2 separate regions of the Homo sapiens genome follow, and region 2 is linked to region 1. Evidence: promoter capture Hi-C in human tissues and cell types (Jung and others, 2019). All regions are on one chromosome and are shown on one strand. The core of a region is centred on a gene start or on the middle of the fragment in contact, and the rest is flanking DNA. Distances in the headings are between cores, read along the strand shown.

What was found. The method cuts DNA at HindIII sites, captures the fragments that hold promoters and counts their contacts. A contact is called where the count stands out against the background at its distance.
Region 2: a contact is called between a fragment that was not itself captured here and the fragment with the promoter of DNAJC9 in region 1, in 1 of the 25 tissues and cell types used here (liver).

Annotation. Positions count from the first base shown.
Region 1 is chr10:73,245,716-73,248,920 of GRCh38, reverse strand. It overlaps DNAJC9 (DnaJ heat shock protein family (Hsp40) member C9), which reads left to right and starts at 1,666. Exons shown (of 5, transcript NM_015190.5): 1 at 1,666-1,911; 2 at 2,093-2,233; 3 at 2,745-2,999. The coding sequence starts at 1,732. DNAJC9-AS1 (DNAJC9 and MRPS16 antisense RNA 1) reads right to left here and starts at 1,554. Exons shown (of 4, transcript NR_038373.1): 1 at 1,538-1,554; 2 at 471-628. It overlaps MRPS16 (mitochondrial ribosomal protein S16), which reads left to right. Exons shown (of 3, transcript NM_016065.4): 3 at 1-72. RefSeq lists enhancers at 1,420-1,759, 1,025-2,224 and a silencer at 1,960-2,109. The HindIII fragment of the contact is 4,197 bases long and covers 1-3,205 here.
Region 2 is chr10:73,013,298-73,016,502 of GRCh38, reverse strand. P4HA1 (prolyl 4-hydroxylase subunit alpha 1) reads left to right here. Exons shown (of 15, transcript NM_001017962.3): 12 at 2,214-2,279. Among named protein-coding and RNA genes, the nearest start is that of PLA2G12B, 60 kb to the right of the region's middle. The HindIII fragment of the contact is 5,698 bases long and covers 1-3,205 here.

The DNA.
Region 1 (3,205 bases), core at 417-2,916:
CTAGAGCATAATAATTTGATTTTCTGGTTTTTGAAAATTTGAGTTGCAATAAAAGGATATTTCAGTGTGCGATTTCAATTTTCCGTAGCAAATGTATATATAGAAAAATGTTAAAATAGATGTATTTGAATACCTTAAAAAATACAAGAAACTGGAAGAAAGATAATATTGCAAAGCATCTACATATATCCTAGGCCTTTTGTGTACAAGGTTATTTGTGACAATTGTAAGGTATTATGAAGGCAGGTAGGATTATCTCCGTTTTACAGATAGGGAAGCTGAGGCCTAGAGGTGGAAACTTGCCCAGTGATGTAAGATTCATCTCCCGGTTATGCCCTCCTGGAAAGCCCTTCCCAACATATTATGTTGTCCATAGAGGGAAAAATGAGCAAAGACAGATGGCTTAACTCTGGTGTGTGACTAAGATATAGGAAATTTATAGAGGAGGTTCTATCAATGTGCCGACTTACTTTGTGTTTTATGTTCTGAGAACGATTACCAGCCATCTCAAATTCTGTGGTTGTCAAAGCTCCCCTGGGGTTGTTGCTGGTTGGCCCCCACTTGCTTTGAGACTTTGATGCCAGGGCAGGTTGAGAGGAACTGACTTCAGCTGAGTTTGATCTTGGATCTGGGAAAGAGAAATGCTTTGAAAATCACGGCAACTCTGGGAAGTTTAAAAGATATTAATGTATCCTGGAGAGTTTGAGGCTTTGCAGAAACTTATTGGCAGAGCAGAATGATTCTGAAAAATGCTACATCAGTGAGGGGATATTTGATAAGGTATTTTCTGCCAACTCGGGTATTCACTTAGCATTGTTTATCCTTTAAGATATGTATACACATACTTCCTCTGTGAGTTTACCCTACTAACAAAGTTTTATCCCCAGCCTCAACCTTGCTTTGGGTCTCCAGGCCCAAGTTTCTCACCATCTCTTGGATGATTGCTCCAGCCCACTCTGCTGCCACCTGGGATCCAACATGTTCAAACCCAGCTGTGAACTTCACAGAGTATTAAAAGAAAGAGCCTTTGCTTCAGCAGTTTATGTTATTAAGACGGAGGCTTGGGTCATGTTATCTCTCTCCACCAATGTGTAAGGTGAAAGTCCTATTAGGTAAGAGTTTTTGGAAGACCCGTGTTTTGTGCTTTTTGGGTTTCAGTATAGGGTTTTTTCCTACAGGGCTAGAGGGAAAGTACCCCAGCATTTCCAACCAGTGGGGTGCAAAATTATTTGGGTCTACAGCTTTACCTATTCCTTTCAAGAACATTTTTGAAAAAACACATCTGTTAAGTTGAACCATGTGTAACTGCTGAATGCTGATGTTTGGCCGTTTTCTACTTAAAAAAATAGGCCAGCAGTTTGTAAATTCAAGCTAATATATGAACTTTTTGAAAAAGTTGTTCTTGGACACTAAAAGGTAAGACGGACGCCAGATTTCCAGAGCAAGGGGAGGAGAGACCCGAGCAACATCACTTCCCTGAAGACCTAGCTCCTGCGCGCGGCCGGGGACTGTGACTCCACATGCCGGCGTTACTTACCCGGGCCCGCGCCTGACTCGCCACACCTCATTTTGCGGCCGCCGTAAAGCGCGGATGCGCGGCGTGGCCACGCCCCTTCAGTGCTTGTGACGCAGGCGCCCTGGGCTTTTTGGGCGCGAAAAAGAAGCAGTCCTGGGTTGTACCCGGCGCAGCTGGGAGCGGCTGCTTCCTCCGGGGTCGTATCTCCGCCCGGCATGGGGCTGCTGGACCTTTGCGAGGAAGTGTTCGGCACCGCCGACCTTTACCGGGTGCTGGGCGTGCGACGCGAGGCCTCCGACGGCGAGGTCCGACGAGGCTACCACAAGGTGTCCCTGCAGGTACACCCGGACCGGGTGGGTGAGGGCGACAAGGAGGACGCCACCCGCCGCTTCCAGGTATGCAGGGTCCCGCCCCGAAGCCGACCGGCTGCGCGGGCCTCCCCCTAGCCTTTTGGCTACCGGGCCCCGCCCCGGGGGAGCGCGCTGAGCTCCGCTTGGCGCCTTCTGATCTTTATTTCTCGCGCCGCCGTTTCGGTGGGAGGAGCAGGGGTGATTTACGGATACTCTTTGCCCTCAGATCCTGGGAAAAGTCTATTCCGTTCTCAGTGACAGAGAACAGAGAGCAGTGTACGATGAGCAGGGAACAGTGGACGAGGACTCTCCTGTGCTCACCCAAGACCGAGACTGGGAGGCGTATTGGCGGCTACTCTTTAAAAAGGTAAAGGACTCTGGAGGTTTCTTTGTGACTGTTACCATCATTCAATCAACAAACCTTTATTGACTGCCTCTAAGATCTTGTATTTTGTGTTAATTTTGTAGGAATTAGGAATTTTGAGTTTGGCCTTGAAATACAGATACACGCACGCTTACTGAAACGGGCTTTAAATTTCCTGTTAATGTGATTGTTGCACTGAAAAGGGCCGATTTATTTTTTTTGCCGGATGCGCTTTATTTTACATATCCAAATGTAAGTCCTGATTCCGGATCACCTCTCACTCTTGGAAATTTCACTTAAATTTCCCTTCCCTGGTCCCTAGTTAGCAGTTAATGAAGATTGGATTTAAAAAGGAGGACTCCGGAGAAGCTTAGGCATAGAAAATCTGGTTCAATAATTTCAACTCAAGCAACTGTTGTATTGCAGCAATTCAACACCCAACTCTAGTTTTACTAACGTACGTTTTATTTAAAGTAAAATTCCCAAAGTTAAAGCAAATCTCCTTTATCATCAGATATCTTTAGAGGACATTCAAGCTTTTGAAAAGACATACAAAGGTTCGGAAGAAGAGCTGGCTGATATTAAGCAGGCCTATCTGGACTTCAAGGGTGACATGGATCAGATCATGGAGTCTGTGCTTTGCGTGCAGTACACAGAGGAACCCAGGATAAGGAATATCATTCAGCAAGCTATTGACGCCGGAGAGGTCCCATCCTATAATGCCTTTGTCAAAGAATCGAAACAAAAGATGAATGCAAGGAAAAGGAGGGTAAGATTTTGAATACTGTGGATTTATATTTTGACTGCTTCCAAAAAGGATTTGAGAGTATTTACAGCAGTAGAAGTAAACATAAAACTCCAGAAATAAGGACTAGGGTTAACTTGGTCTATAGTTTCGATCTAATAAAATGGGCATACCAGTTCATCAAGAGAAACTTTTTCTAGCATGTTGTGCTCAAGATGATTTTTATTGCA
Region 2 (3,205 bases), core at 308-2,807, 230 kb after region 1:
GCCCGGCCGCATTACATTGTTAAAGAAAAAGTTATTCTTGACACTTGTTAAAGATGGTAAGGCAGACTTCATTCAAGGGGGGACCATTGCGATAGGTATAGGGACCACTGCAAATGCAGTGGGATTTTGCAGTAAGGGAGAGAGGTTAAGCCCAATTCCAAATACAACAAGGAAAAGTGGGAATTTATAGCCAATGAGCAAGGGTGGGTGTTAGTAGATGGAAAATTACTAAGAGGTAAGGGAAGATTCTGGCTAAACTGACCTAACAGGATTCTTGCTGAAGTCAGGGAAGAGTGATCATCATCCAGGGGATAGTGGAAGATGAAGAACCCAGTTAGGTTTTGAGGGTGATCACATGGCAAGGACGGGGAATTCTGGCTAACCTGACTTAGCAGGGTTCTTGCTTAAATTGGACAATGCAGAGGTAAATACCAGAAGCCCAAAGTCAGGGCCTACTTGAGAAGAAAGTTCAGAGGAGCCTGAGTAGTTGGGTCAAGGAGAGATTCTTTGTCAACATGTTAATTCTGTTATTTTAACATTAAAAATTCATAGCCTATTTGGAATTTATGGAAATACGGTGTGGCAGATATTCTGTGAAACCTTTTTACCAGTTAAAAAAAAAAAACCAAACACCTAGATACCCAATAAAATCACTTAAGATACTTTAAATGCATTGGCAAGCCTGGAAGAAAGTAAAGGGTGTTCCAAAAGGCAAACTGAACAATGATCCCAAACTTAGAGAATTAAAGAGGGGACAAAACACAGAGGCTGGAGGTATGTGCCTCCAGGAACTAGAGCTTTGGGAATAACAGCTCTGTAAGAGGAGGATCTGCCACAGTGTAGGCTGCTGAATTTGAGACCCTGGCATAAACTCTAAATCTCCACAAGGATTACACCTTCAGTAAAGAAAGAATGGGTTTGAAAATAAATCTCTTGTGATACAGGAGCCTTATGGGGAACTGTCTGTTTCCATCCTGGCTGGGGCATAGTGTGTATGATAGGGGAGCTACTTCAGGGAGTACTATGTATGGAATTTTCCACTTGTGTCATGTTAGCACTAAAAGTTTTGAACTTCAGAGCATTTTGCATTTTGGACTTTTGGTATGCTCAACCTGTATTCCATGTTACGGATATACCACAGTTTAGCCATTCACCCATCGAAGGACATTTGGATAGTTTTTAGTTTTTGGCTATTACAAATAAAGATGTGTTTACATTTCTATGTGAAAAATGCATTTTCATTTTTCTGGGAGAAATGCCAAGAGGTTGTATTGTATTTTAATTTAGATATAAATATTTAGATATTAATTCTTTAGCTTGATTATAGTGCTGAAAGTCACTTTACTAGCATTATTAGAAAAATAATACTAGGGGCCAGGCGTGGTGGCTCATGCCTGTAATCCCAGCACTTTGGGAGGCCAAGGTGGGTGGATCACTTGAGGTCAGGAGTTCAAGACCAGTCTGGCCAACATGGTGAAACTCCATCTCTACTAAAAATACAAAAAAATTAGCCAGGCATGGTGGTACACGCCTGTAGCCCCAGCCACTTGGGAGGCTGAGGCAGAAGAATTGCTTAAACCCGGGAGGTGGAGGTTGCAATGAGCTGAGATCATGGCACTGCACTCCAGCCTGGGCGACAGGGCAAGACTCTGTCTCAAAAAAAAAAAAAAAGAAAAAAGAAAATAATACTAGGAAATATTTCAGTAGGTCGTGAGTTCAAAGTAAGTCTCAAGGTAAATTAAGCTTCAGGAGTATAGCTAAGAGATGGCTGTCAAGTCATATTTTTTAGAAGCTAAAATTGTGGGTATTTGTTTTTAAAATAATATGTAGCTTGCAGATAATGGCTGTCGTTTAGGCTAATAAGTCTGCTTTTTATCCAGTAATCTTGTCTAAAGTATCCAGTATACAAGTTCAGTCATCACGTATTTGAGGCCAGGTACAGTGGCTCACACCTGTGATCCTAGCATTTTGGGAGGCTAAGGCAGGAGGATCGCTTGAGGCCAGGAGTTCAAGATCACCCTGGTCCACATAGCAAGACTCCATCTTACAAAAAGATTGCCTGATGTTTATAGTGCACTGGACATTACAAGGGAAACTTTTGCGGTTGTTGTTGGCATATTCTTCAGGATATTACTACTGATGTTTAGTTGCCACTAGAGTATTTGTATTACTGAATTTTTACACCATTGAATTTACTGTGTTTTTATTCACAGAAAGATGAGCCAGATGCTTTCAAAGAGCTGGGGACAGGAAATAGAATTGCTACATGGCTGTTTTATGTAAGTCGTCACTAAAATTTTTAGATTAAGTTGGGATTTGATGACAAGATTCATTTTAATGTTTTAAGTTTGTTCTGTGTAGCTCTGATTCAGCATCCTAGTTTAACATTTTTACAACTGAATAAAGTGAGTTAAGAATTATTTTGCACTTGCAACTTTTTCAGGCTATAAGATAGATGTTCATTATAGAAACTTCTGGACAAACTTAGAATTTATAGTGCCACTACCTGCAGATAATCATTAATATTTTAACATATAGTCTCTCTGTTTAGTAATATATAATATGTGTATATAAAAATCTCTATATATTTGAATTTCTATACATACACATACACATTATTTCAGTAAACTTCTGAATTACATTTTTTTATTGAAGTATATCAGAAGAGTGCGCAAATTAAGTATTATAACTTAATTTTCACAAAGTGAACACTTCTGGTGTATTCAGTACTAAGATGAAGAAATAGCATATTACAACCCCCAGAAACCCTATCTCAGAGTTTTAAAACAGTATGATCATAATTCAATTTTTAAAATTGTTTATATATTTTTATATATGGAAAAAAGTTTTGATTGTAGTGTTTGTTCTAGTTACCCCAAATAAAGCACTCCAAAACTCTCCTTTCTGAGTGGTTTAAAATAACAACGATTTTCTTAATGTATCTCTAACAGTTATGAGGTTGACTGGGCTCAACTCATGGTTCCTGCTCCAAATCTGACATGTATTTGCCGTCAAATGCCTGGCACTGGGGTATCTTGAAGGCTAAGGTTGAGGCTGGCTGTCAGCCAGAATGCCTAAAGTCTGGCCAATACATGTGGCTGAGCTTCTTCACAGCATAGTGACTGGATTGCAAGAGGAAGCATCCCAAAAGAACAATGCAAAAGTACATGGTATTGTTATGACCTACCCTCAGAAGTCACAGATG